Regions from separate parts of the Homo sapiens genome. Here regions 1 and 2 are each linked to region 3. Evidence: promoter capture Hi-C in 16 types of primary human blood cells and fetal thymus (Javierre and others, 2016). All regions are on one chromosome and are shown on one strand. The core of a region is centred on a gene start or on the middle of the fragment in contact, and the rest is flanking DNA. Distances in the headings are between cores, read along the strand shown.

What was found. The method cuts DNA at HindIII sites, captures the fragments that hold promoters and counts their contacts. A CHiCAGO score of 5 or more calls a contact.
Region 1: a contact is called between a fragment that was not itself captured here and the fragment with the promoter of FAM120C in region 3, in 4 of 17 cell types (total B cells, fetal thymus, naive CD8 T cells and 1 more). The highest score is 9.1, in total B cells.
Region 2: a contact is called between a fragment that was not itself captured here and the fragment with the promoter of FAM120C in region 3, in 1 of 17 cell types (fetal thymus). The highest score is 6.9, in fetal thymus.

Annotation. Positions count from the first base shown.
Region 1 is chrX:52,997,114-53,001,131 of GRCh38, reverse strand. No RefSeq gene overlaps it. Among named protein-coding and RNA genes, the nearest start is that of FAM156A, 41 kb to the right of the region's middle. The HindIII fragment of the contact is 8,235 bases long and covers 1-4,018 here.
Region 2 is chrX:55,713,189-55,717,024 of GRCh38, reverse strand. No RefSeq gene overlaps it. Among named protein-coding and RNA genes, the nearest start is that of RRAGB, 2.6 kb to the left of the region's middle. The HindIII fragment of the contact is 1,189 bases long and covers 1,562-2,750 here.
Region 3 is chrX:54,181,098-54,185,004 of GRCh38, reverse strand. It overlaps FAM120C (family with sequence similarity 120 member C), which reads left to right and starts at 1,751. Exons shown (of 16, transcript NM_017848.6): 1 at 1,751-2,505. The coding sequence starts at 1,807. RefSeq lists silencers at 1,319-1,418, 1,989-2,198, 2,209-2,258. The HindIII fragment of the contact is 3,156 bases long and covers 219-3,374 here.

The sequences.
Region 1 (4,018 bases), core at 213-2,712, 1.2 Mb after region 3:
ATTAGAGTAATCCACAGGACCTAAGTATGAAATAGCTGGCCCCTCTTGGATCTCACCTCCTGTGAGTGTGCAGCTGGGGATGAGGCGTGGAGGATGTAACATACCATTGCGGGTACCGGAAATGAACACACCATTATGCGAGATACCATAGGGGAAGGGAGCTTCTATTTTGTAAGAATACAAATGCTGTGTGTGGAGGGACAATAAAGCCCACCCCCGCCCACCAACGAAATCAGCCCCACCTTTCGACAGTAGGGCGGGCGCGGCGGCGAGCGCCCCAGGCGGCAATCCGTCCTCCTGGTTTCCACCCAGGCCCAAGCTGACACCCATTCTCCGACTTCTCGGAGACCCCTCTAGTCCCATTTTTGGCCACGCCCGTCTCCGTTCTACAGATCTGAATAAATTAGGAACCTGCAAAGGGGCAGTCGATCGGTTGTGGGACGATCAAGGCAGGAAGGCATCAAGGACCGCTCTGGGAAGCTCACCTAGAGAGTGCGGCTCTTACAGAGTACAGCGGGATGCACTCGTAGAGCCGGGTCCCTGGGTCTTCGCGCTCGCGCACGGTCAGGCACAGTGGCTGATGGGCGGAAGTTCGTAAAGCGGAGCCTGGGCTTTAAGGACTGGATGACCAGTGGGATCCAGTCTTCAAGACTTGGACTGTTGTTCAGTATGAGGCTAAAGATGCTTCCCAAGTCACAGGCAGGGCTTAAGTGAGACCACTCGCAAGGGGTCATCTGGCGCTCAGTGCGCAGGGCTCTAAGTTTTAGGTCATCACAGATCTGACTTGCAGTGTCCCAAGCACTTCTTTCTTATGTGCCATCTCATTTAATCCCCACTAGCACCTTTGGAAGAAAGCCCTGTCACCTCTGTCGCTGATGAGGACACTGGAGCGCCAAGAAGGCAGATCCCTGGCTGGGGCCCTCCAACCAGGGTGGGGCAGAGCTGGGGCCAGATGACAATTCCCGGAGGACCGCAGTTGGGACACTCCCAGCGCTCATGCTGCCCCTGTCCCTCCCAGGGTCCCTTCTCTGTCCTCACAGACCCAGCTGGGCAGTGTCCTCCCATCTCCTGAGGTGACACTCACCCCAGCGCCTCCTTCAGGAATCCCACCCCGCCCCCTCCAGCCCTAGGCGAATTGCCCTGGACTCTCAGTCTGGGTCTGGAGTTTCATCTGGATCTGGGAGACATTTCCAGTTCTGCCCTAACAGGGATGTTGTGACAGAAACCTGTGTGGGGGCAGGAGAGATATCTGTCCTGCAAAATGGTCTGCACTTTCAGGAAGTGCAGGGAGGGTCCTGAGGGGGTCCTCTGAGGTAGGCCTAGGTGCCGGGTGAGAGGACCGAAGTGGGCGTGAGAGGGTATAACTGAGGCCCCATGACTAGGGCTGGGGTAGGGAGGTAGAGGTCCGTGGTGGAAGGGGAGCCCTGGTGGCTCACAAGGGTGGGGAGCTGGGGAGAGAGAGGAGGTGTGGCAGCTGCCAATTGGAGAGGAAGTTTGGGAGAAAGGACCAGAATGCTCAGAAGGGCCATAATGGGGGTTGCCATTGGCAGTGTGAAGGGAGGACCTCTACTCTCTCTCCAAGATCCAGTTCCCCACAGTGGGTGCTGAGAGATGGCAAAGATAACGGGGTCTAGGGGTCTCCTACTGTGTTCTGGGATTTACCCTGAAGCCCCCATGGGGCAAGATACAAAAGTCACCAGGACCAAAGGTGATCAGGGTTGGTCAGACGATGGCCATTCCTGGGAGCCAGATATGAGAGCTTACTCTCTGATCCCCTCAGTCCCAGAGGGTCCTTCCCCATCCCTGGTGTGAACCTGCCTTCCTCATGACAACAACGGTGGTGACTGCAGACTGTGGGGAACTACAAGATCCAAGGCCTCCCCATAACAGTGTTGGATGGCACAGAGATTCAGCATCACACAGCAGCCCTGAGCTGATTCTTTGTGGGTATGTGTACCAGGGTGTAGCTGGTAAGCTCTTTGTGGGTTGGTGTGTGAGGTCCTTGAGTTATTGTGAGCTGTTACCTTGAGGTAGGAATTCTCTGAGCTGGTTGGGGGTCTGTGTCCTGAGGTGTGGCATCTTTGAGCTGTTTGGTGGTTGGTGTCTAGGGTGAGAGGTCTCTGAACTGCTTGTGGGCACTGTCCTAAGGCATGAGATCTTTGAACATTTTTGTGGGAGGTCTTTGTCCAGAAGGTTAGGTCTCCGAGCTGCTCATATATCAGGATATTTTTGTGAGGAAGGCAGGATGGTCCTTTCTCTCACAGGGGTAGAACAAGGTGCCCTGGTATCAGAGAGATGAAAACATAGGATCCTTATCCTTAGGGAGGGCAAGTCCTCAGTGTAGCATGTAGGAGCCAGTGGTACAAATACTAATGACAATGTCTGCAGACATTAACCCCATCCTTGCTCAGGGCCGACCCCTGTGACAAACCCATGTAACCCATGTTAACTCAATCTGCCAAATTGCCAATGAGGAGCTCACCATTTGCAGATGAGGAGGCTGAAGCCAAGTGAGGGTAGGGCCTGTGCTCACACAGTCCTCATGAAGAGGGAGGAACTGGCTGTAACTTGGACTCACTGGAGGAGACAGGGAAAGGCTCAGGCACAGCCGGGGTCAATGGGAGATGACAAGGAAAGGGGAAAGGAAGAGGTTTGCCCAGGGCCTCAAGGGCCCCATCACTGACTCACTGGTGGGAGGTCTGCCTCTCTGTCTCTCTGTCGCACACCCTGCTTGGTAATGGATGTTGAGAATGCAATCCTCACGTTACCTGTGGAAGTGGTGGCATGAGGTAAAGAGTGGGGAAATACCACAGATTCATCCATTGGCATGAGGTCCACCAGCAAATGTAGAGATTCCTACCTCTTCTTCCCCCTTGAAAGAATTTTTTTCAGGCCAGGCATGGTGGCTCACGCCTGTAATCCCAGCACTTTTGGGAGGCCGAGGCAGGCAGATGGCTTGAGCCCAGGAGTTCAAAACCAGCTTGGGCAACATGGCAAAACCCTGTCTTTACAAAACATATAAAAAAAAATCAGGCCGGGCATGGTGGCTCATGCCTGTAATCCCAGCACTTTGAGAGGCCAAGGCAGGTGGATCACTTGAGGCTAGGAGTTTGAGACCAGCCTGTCCAACCTGGCGAAACCCTGTCTCTACTAAAAATACAAAAATTAGCCGGGCATGGTGGTGCATGCCTGTAATCCCAGCTACTCGGGAGGCTGAGGCATGAGAATCGCTTGAGCCCAGGAGGTGGAGGTTGCAGTGAGCCGAGATCACACCACTGCACTCAGCCTCGGTGACAGAGGGAAACTCTGTCTCAAAGAAACCAAAACCAAAACAAAAAAATCAGCTGGGCATGGTGGCGTGCACCTATAGTCCCAGCTACTTGGGAGGCTGAGGTAGGAGGATTGCTTGAGCCCAGGAGGTTGAGGCTGCGGTGAGCCGTGATTGTGCCACTGCACTACAGCCTGGGTGACAGAGCAAGACTCTGTCTCAAAAAAAAAAAAAAAAAAAAAGAATTTTTTCAGCACTGAGAGTCAGCAGGACGGCAGTCAAGGGCTGGAGGGGGTATGGGGGATTCTGTATACAGCATGAGCCTCCCCATAACTGGAACGTGTCCTTATCCTGATGGGTAGAGGGTCCCAATGTGTGTCAAGGAAGTGGGGCGGGTCTTCCCTCATGACTGAGGCCCAGGCCAAGGGCAGGTGAGTCAGTCCCTAGACACAGTTTCTGGGGAGAGGCTTCCTTTCCTCTGCAGACACAGGCACAGCACCTAGTAGCATGCATAGGGGTCCGGAGCTGTGGATCTAATTCAGCAGGGACAGCCAGCTGCCAGAAGTAGTCTCTCTGCCCTTGTCTCTCTATTACTCTCTTTCTTTCCCTCTATCTTCTCTGTGTCTGTTACTTTCTCTCTCAGACATGGGGCTAGGTGTGACCTCACTCATGCTATCAGGGCCCTTGATCAGCTTCTTCTAAGGGTATCATCCTCTGACATGGATTTTTCTGGGGAGCAGTTGGGAGGAT
Region 2 (3,836 bases), core at 907-3,406, 1.5 Mb before region 3:
AATGCCCAGAGGGGTTCAAAGATGTTCCTTCTGGAGAATGGGGTAGGGGATAGGACGTGATATGTCAGGGGACTATTATTTTTTATCTGAAGCCCTTCTGTGCTATATATATTTCTATAATGTATAAATGATATATAATAATAAGATTAATATGACATTTAATTATATTTAATATAATCAACTAATACTTAAATAATATGTTATAAATATGTTATTTTAAATAAATGTGTAGTTTAATTATATTATTTATAATTAATATATGATATACTACATGTATTATTTACACGTAAGTGTGTACATATATTACTTTGATAAGAAAAAAAGGGAAGGAAGGAAGAGAAACTGCAGGAAACAGAGTACTATTATTGAAACTGCCTTTGCAAAAACTGTAACTGAGGAAATTATGACAGTGAAAGAGATCAGACCTCACCGACTCCATCTTACATCTAACCTTTAAGGTGTCCTTGTTCATTCCTGGGCGTAGGCCGAACTAACCTTGGGAAGGAATTTAGTTTATAGTTTAACTCTGATACAAAATTGATAATAGCCCTTTCTCCCTCCCGCTGCCCCCCACTAAAAAAAAACAAAAAAACAAAAAAACCTTCTTACCTGGGAACCAGTCGGCCTTTGCAGGACTAACAAATTAGCCACAAGATTACAAGATTAGAAATTACAATTCAGGGGCCATGCAGCCTCCAGCTGCAAGAGTCTGAACCTCCCCAAATTGCTCCCAGGAATAACATCACTGTTTTAAAACCTAAGATCACTGTTTGATATGTTTTGCAGACCCTGCATTCAGATGCACCAGCTTATGATACAGGAGCGGGGCAGGAAAGTGCTGGGCAGAGAAAGGCGGGTCCGTGGCTAGGGCTCCACCCTGGGGCCTGTGCCCATGGACCTAGGTGAGGATAGGCACTCCTGCCTTCCCACCCAAATGTTATATTCACCCCTAGAGGTTGCCATGGGGTCGGAGCCCCACAGCCTGCCCCTCTGCATGCTCCCCCTAGAGGTTGTGAAGCAGTGAGCCACTCCCGCTGTGGCATGCCCTGCAAGGGGGATAGGGGAACTTCCCTCGTTTCACTTACAGCACCCAGACCAGTAATCTGGCCCAGCCAGTTCTGCGATCCCACCCAGGAACAGAAGATAGCAAGAAAAACTCACTTAGAGCCCCCTATGATTCCATATCCAACTTGACCAGTCAACACTCCCCACTTCCCAAGCCCCTACCCACCAAATTATTGTTAAAAATTTCAATCCCCCGAAACTGATTTGAGTAATAAAACTGCAGTCTCACCCACAGCTGGCTCTGCATGAATTACTCTTTCTCCATTGCAATTCCCCTGTCTTGATAAATCAGCTCTGTCTAGGCAGCAGGCAAGGTGAACCCGTTGGGCAGTTACACTGTCTGCTCCCACACTTTCCACTTGAGGTCCTGTGTGATTCCTTTTCTCCACAACTGCCTTGCCTCAAGAAAAAAGTTATTCTACTCTGATTAGTGATCCTTCGCTCTATCACTAGCTAATCTTTTGTCTCCTTCCAACCAACTACCCCCAAACAAGCTTCCATTCTGGCTTTCCTTGTCTGATGAAAGATCCTGAGTCCCAAACCAGGAAGTCACCTTAGATTCACTGCCCTCCATACGTGTCAATGAGACCAGGTCATGATCAGTCTATTTTCTACTACCTGCCTGCTCTTATTCTTACTGCCACTCTTTTTGTTCCAGCTATCATAATCTCTGGCCTAGATATCCACAATAGCCTACTAAGTGATTTTCCCACAGTGGCAGCTCCAAAGGGGTTGGGAGTGAGTGAGTTGATCTTCATTAGTCATCTCATCCCCCAAAACATTTGACGTAATTAATATGTGCTTGCTTTCTAAAGGCAGCTTTCAAATATGTCTTCCAACACCTACTGCCCCCGGGCTTCACCAGCCAAATTGGCCCCTTAAACCACTCTTTTATAAAAATGTACTGTCTCGGCCAGGTGCAGTGGCTTACACCTGTAATCCCAGCACTTTGGGAGGCCAAAGTGGGCGAATCACCTGAGGTCAGGAGTTCGATACCAGCCTGGCCAACATAGTGAAACCTCATCTGTACTAAAACTACAAAAATTAGCCAGGTGTGGTGGCACGCGCCTATAATCCCAGCTACTCGGGAGGCTGAGGCAGGAGAATTGCTTGAACTCAGGAGGCGGAGGTTGCAGTGAGCCAAGATCGCACCACTGCACTCCAACCTGGGCGACAAAGCAAGCAAAAAAAAAATACTGTCTCCCTGTTGCTGCTGGTATCCTTTTCCCCCTCCTTCAAACCATCCATCCTCTCTAAAAGCTGCTCAAGTGATCCTTTATTTTAATTAATTAATTAACTAGTTTTTGTTGAGACTGGGTCTCACTTTGTTGCCAGACTCAAACTCCTGGCCTCAAGGGATCTGCCCACCTTGGCCTCCCAAGGTGCTGGGATTACAGGTGCGATCAAATTTCTTTTTATCGTCGTTGTAGTTGTTGTTGTTCTTGTTGTTTTTGAGACAGGGTTTTGCTCTCTGACCCAAGCTGGAGTACAGTGGCACAATCATGGCTCACTGCAACCTCAACTTGAGTAATCTTTTAAACCACAAATCGGAGGAGACTACTTCTCTACTTTAAAATCCTCCCATAACTTAAGGAAAAAGTGTGTCAATACAAGGACCTTCAAGATCTGGCCTATAGCAACTCACGAGCTATATTTCTCTACCCACATTCACTACCTCACAAGCTTCATAAGGAACTGCTGATAGTTGCCTCAAAGTGCCAAGAGGCAAGAAGTAAGAAGAGGAAGAAACAGATAAAGAAGGGGAGGGGAGGGATGAAGAAGAAAAGGGGGAGAAGTGGGGAGATGGGAAAGAGGGAAGGAATAGAGGGGTAAGGAGAAGAGGAAAAAGGAGGAAGAGGGGTAGAAGGAAGGGAATGGAAGAAAGGTAGTGGAAAAGGATTGAGAAACTAAATCAAATAAGCATAGATTCCAAATAATGGTGAATAGGGCCAATGTGCAGTGCATTCCTATTGTAAATCAAAAATAAAATACCAAGGTTCCTCAACCATTTGAATGTGCTTTCTCCTCGGCCAGGGCACTCTTTAAAAATGTATCCTGAGTGACTTTCTGGCCATGACAGGAAGTAGGGGTCAAACATGCCTCATTATATTTCTCCAGCTTTAACATCAACACAGACCTTTAAATCTGATAAGAAGCATTTACATTCTATTCTTTCTGAACCTGCAGGCTTCCTGCATGATTAAACTTTAGTCTCCACAACCTCTTATCTTAACCCAAACATTCCTTTCTATTGATCCTAGGTCTTTAAACTCAACCAATTGTCAACCAGAAATTTTTTCAATCTACCTATAAGCTGGAAGCCCCCCTCCCACCCCCACTCCGAGTTGTCCCACCTTTCTGGGCCAAACCCATATATTTCTTACATGTATTTGACTGAAGTCCCTTGTCTCCCTAAAATGTATAAAACCAAGCTGCACCGCAGCCACCTTGGGCACTTGTTTTCAGGATCTCCTGAGGACTGTATCACAGGCCATGGTCACTCCTATTTGGCTCAGAATAAATCTCATCAAATGTTTTCCAGAGTTTGACTCTTTGTTGACACTATATAGTCCAGCAGTTCAGATTCTGGTTTCTACCCAGGTACCTTTGGCTGCTTATTTTTCACATTTTTATTCTTAAAAAAAAAAAAACCCTTACATACATAGGAAGCGGAGGTCACTTTTTATTTTTGTTGAATTAATTTTTAAACATTTAATTATAGGTTCTTTTCAGAAAGTGTGAACTAAGCTCTATTACTCACACATTCATTC
Region 3 (3,907 bases), core at 502-3,001:
CGGAAAAGAGGGGCTGGGCAGACCGTCCCACACGTGTCCATTATACTAAAAAACCTCCATTCCTTCCATCCTTCATCCCTTCAAGCCACTGCTCTCTCCTTTCACTGCTTGCTTTCAAGAGTTAACTATGTACACTGCCTTGCCATCTACTTATTCTTTGACAATCTGGCTTGTTCCATCTCCACTATTTTATAATTTCTTTTATGTAGCTTGAAGCTTTTTTGCTTTTGCATCCTAATAGAGTATTCCCCTATCTCATTCATCCCGATCACTCTTGGGTTCTGCACTTCTGCATTCTAACTCTGCCTGCCATTATCTCCCATCTTCCAGTAAGTTCCAAGCCAGATCTGGCTACTACTCATTTCAGATCTTGTTTTCTGCTTTATTCCTGCTGAAAGAGTGGGCCGGCCCTAAAAGCCAGAAAGAAGACAGGCACTGCATCTGTTTCATCTCAGTATGTTGAAAATACATTTTTCAAAAGATTATGACTCCATACATCTGAAATTAGAGCCCTTGCAGCTATTTAGAAAAGCTCCCGACAGACTAAAACACAATGAAGTTTGGAAACCAAAGGCCCTAACCATAGGACATAGTGGATCTAGGAGTACCAAAAAGGTACAATTTGTAATGTAATTTGTGTTGGTAATTATCTCCCTGCCCAAAGAGATGCTGAGGGCAAGGATATTCGATTTAACTTTGTCTCTGCATTGCCTTAGGCAAGTAAATAATGTAAGTTTCTTTTTATTTATTTATTTATTTTTGAGACGGAGTCTGGCTCTGTCACCAGGCTGGAGTACGGTGACATGATTTTGGCTCACTGCAACCTCCGCCTCCCAGGTTCAAGCGATTCTCCTGCCTCAGCTTCCCCAGTAGCTGGGATTACAGGCACGTGCCACCACGCCCGGCTACTTTTTGTATTTTTAGTAGAGACGGGGTTTCACCATGTTGGCCAGGATGGTCTCGATCTCCTAACCTCGTGATCTGCCCGCCTCGGAGGGATTACAGGCGTGAGCCACCGCGCCCGACCAGTTACGTCTTTCTTAATTGGGACCAACAGCTCTTTAAATATTATCTTTCCACTAAGGGGAAAATCCTCCCTCCTGGGGAGTTTTAGCTCACTTTAGCTGAATTCAGTCAATCCACTCTAACTTCCATTCCCATGATGCATCAATCCATCCCCCAAAACTCTTTTTCCAGGAAAAAGCAGTAAATAACCTAAGCAACTCAGTGAGATGCAAGGAGTTGGAGTGCAACTCCTAAACACTCATCATCACGCCCCGCTTCCTGTGACCCTGTGAGCACAAGGGCTGAGAAGGGTGGTAGTCTGGTTCCTCGACTATATCCTAAGGCCATAGAGAAGACTACAACTACCAAGATGCCCCTCTCCCCGCCCCGCCCCGCCCCTCCTCGCTCCCCTTCCTCCAGCTAGAAAGCGTGTACCACCGAGAAGACGAGGCAACATGGCTCCCGGAGGTGGAAGAAAGAGGCTTCACCCCTTCTAAAGCGGGAAGAAGAGCGGCCGGAAAGGAGAAAAAAGAGAAGTGACTAGAGCCCATCCTCGCTTTTATCCTCCCAGCCTCTCCCGGGTCCGGTCTGCCCCTCCCCTTCTCTCTACCCAAATCCAATTTGTGGTCTCCTCCCCTCCCCGCCCTCATTCCCTCGCTTCCTCACCCCTCCCCTCGGGAATCCTTTTCCCGCCCCCCCTCGCCCCCCGCGGAGTGCGCACGCGCCCGCCCCCAGCTTCGCGCCCAGATCGTCGCCTATCCTGCTTGCGCAGCCGCTATCGCGTCTGCCCACCGACGAAGCATGGGTGTCCAGGGCTTCCAAGAGTTCCTGGAGAAGCGCTGTCCCGGGGCCGTGGTGCCCGTGGACCTCCTAAAACTCGCGCGCACGGTCTCGCGCCAGCAGCAGCAGCAGCACTTGCACCGCCAGCTGCCGCCGACTGCAGCCCTAGCGCCCGGGGCTCCACGCGCCGCCAGGGGCTCCGTGCCTCTGCAACCGCCGCTTCCGCCCGCTGCCTTGGGTGCCTACTCCGGGGGCGCGGGGCCGACTCGGCACCATCACCCCGCTCACCACTTCCACCATCATGGCCAAGCGCAGCCCGGGCTGCACCCTCCGCTGCCGCCGCCGCCGCCCCCTCAGCTGCCCGGGGCCCGGGTGCTGGTGGACGCCGGCTCGGCGCTGCCGCGGCTCTATGGCGGCTACCAGACGGATTGGGTGTGTGGCGGCCAATGGAACGCCATGCTGGGCTACTTGTCAGCGCTGTGCCAGGCTTGTGCCTATCCTGGCGGCGACGGCCTGGAGCTCGTGGTCATGTTCCCGGGGGGCCTGGGCAAGGACCGGCTGGCCGAGTGGGGCCGTCGGTGCCAGGCCGAGCGGCAGACAGCGCAACTGATCGTGGGACACGTGGGCAACAAGGGCACCCCTCCACCGCGGGCCTGGTTCCTGCCACCGGCCTGCCTGAGCCACTGCGTGAGGCTAGCACTCATCCGCTTCCGGGTCAAGGTGAGGGAGGGGCCGGATCTTAAATAATAAGCCCCACACCTATTCCCTCCCAACTAAATACCTAACCACCTACCCACTTACCCACTACCCTACCTCCCATCTACCCACCCACCTACCCGCCCAACAGCTAACCTACCTGCCTAACTACCCTCTACCATTTTATCCATTTACCTCCCCCTTCATACCACCCCCTACGGATTCACTCACCTACATGGCCATATCTCTACTCATGTCATCCCAGTAGCTCCCTTTAGCTTCCCTTATCCAATTGGCCTACCACTAGGTTTCAGCAGAATCTAGTCAGAATTTCTTTTGTAGCCTCATCTTTCTCCTGGTGTCTTCTGCCTCAAACTGAAATGCCTTTACCCTGCTTTTGCCAGTTGACATCTCTCTCCTGTATCTCTTTCCAACCTCGCAGTAAATCACTTAAGCAGGTGTGAACTGAACACCTTTCTTCTACATTGTTTTTCCGTCTTCACCCACTGCTGCTTTTTTACCCATCTGTGTCCATTCAGCCTTTTTCATTTCAACATGCATCTTCTTCCTCCTGCCTTAGCCTAAACACATAAAAACCCACTGATTCAGTCACTGTTCAGCAAGTATTAACTCACTGAGTGTAAGGGTTTTAAAGACATGTGAGACACTGCTCATGCCCTTGGAAAGTTAAATGTATACACATGAAACATTTAATTATAGCAATGTGTATGTGATTATGCCTTATGGTCCAGACAGTAAGTACAGTTCCTGTTTTCTGTATGTGGGAGTGGTGGGATATCTTTGGACTAAAGTGGTCAGGGGAGGCTTCCCTGAAGAAGTCGGACCTCACCTGGGTCTTCAAAGGTGGATTGGATTTGAATGAGTCACAAGCTTGGGAGGAGGCTGCTTTAAGTGGGAGGAAGAAAATGAGCAGAAGCAAAAAGGAATATTAAGTGTGCAAGGCCCCATAGGCAGTTAAGTCCAATCTGCATGTAGTTGGGTCACTGCATATGGGGCCTGGGGAACAGCTTGGCAGCATCCCCAGTTCTTGGCACCACTGCTGCTGCTCTGTTGCTTTCCCATACTCTTAGGTTTCAAGTTCCTACGTGTAGAGAATAGCAAGGCTTGGGAAGTAAAGGAGGTGGGCAGGAAGAAGAAAAAGAAAAGTAGTACAGGGTTGGGTAGAAAGAAACCGCAAACCTATTTCCCCAACCAAGGTTCTTGGGGGTTGTCCTTACAGTTAGACAGAACAGGGGATTGTGGGAATCACTTAAGAAGTGGTGTCGGCTGGAGTAATGAGGAGGAAAGAAATTTTAGCTCAGAGACTAAAAGACCTAAACAGAGAAGCTTGCAGTGGTTATAGAGCTTGTGGCTAGAGTCCAGTCATGCTAGACTCGTTCTCAGCATCAAATCTGTGCCTAGAGTG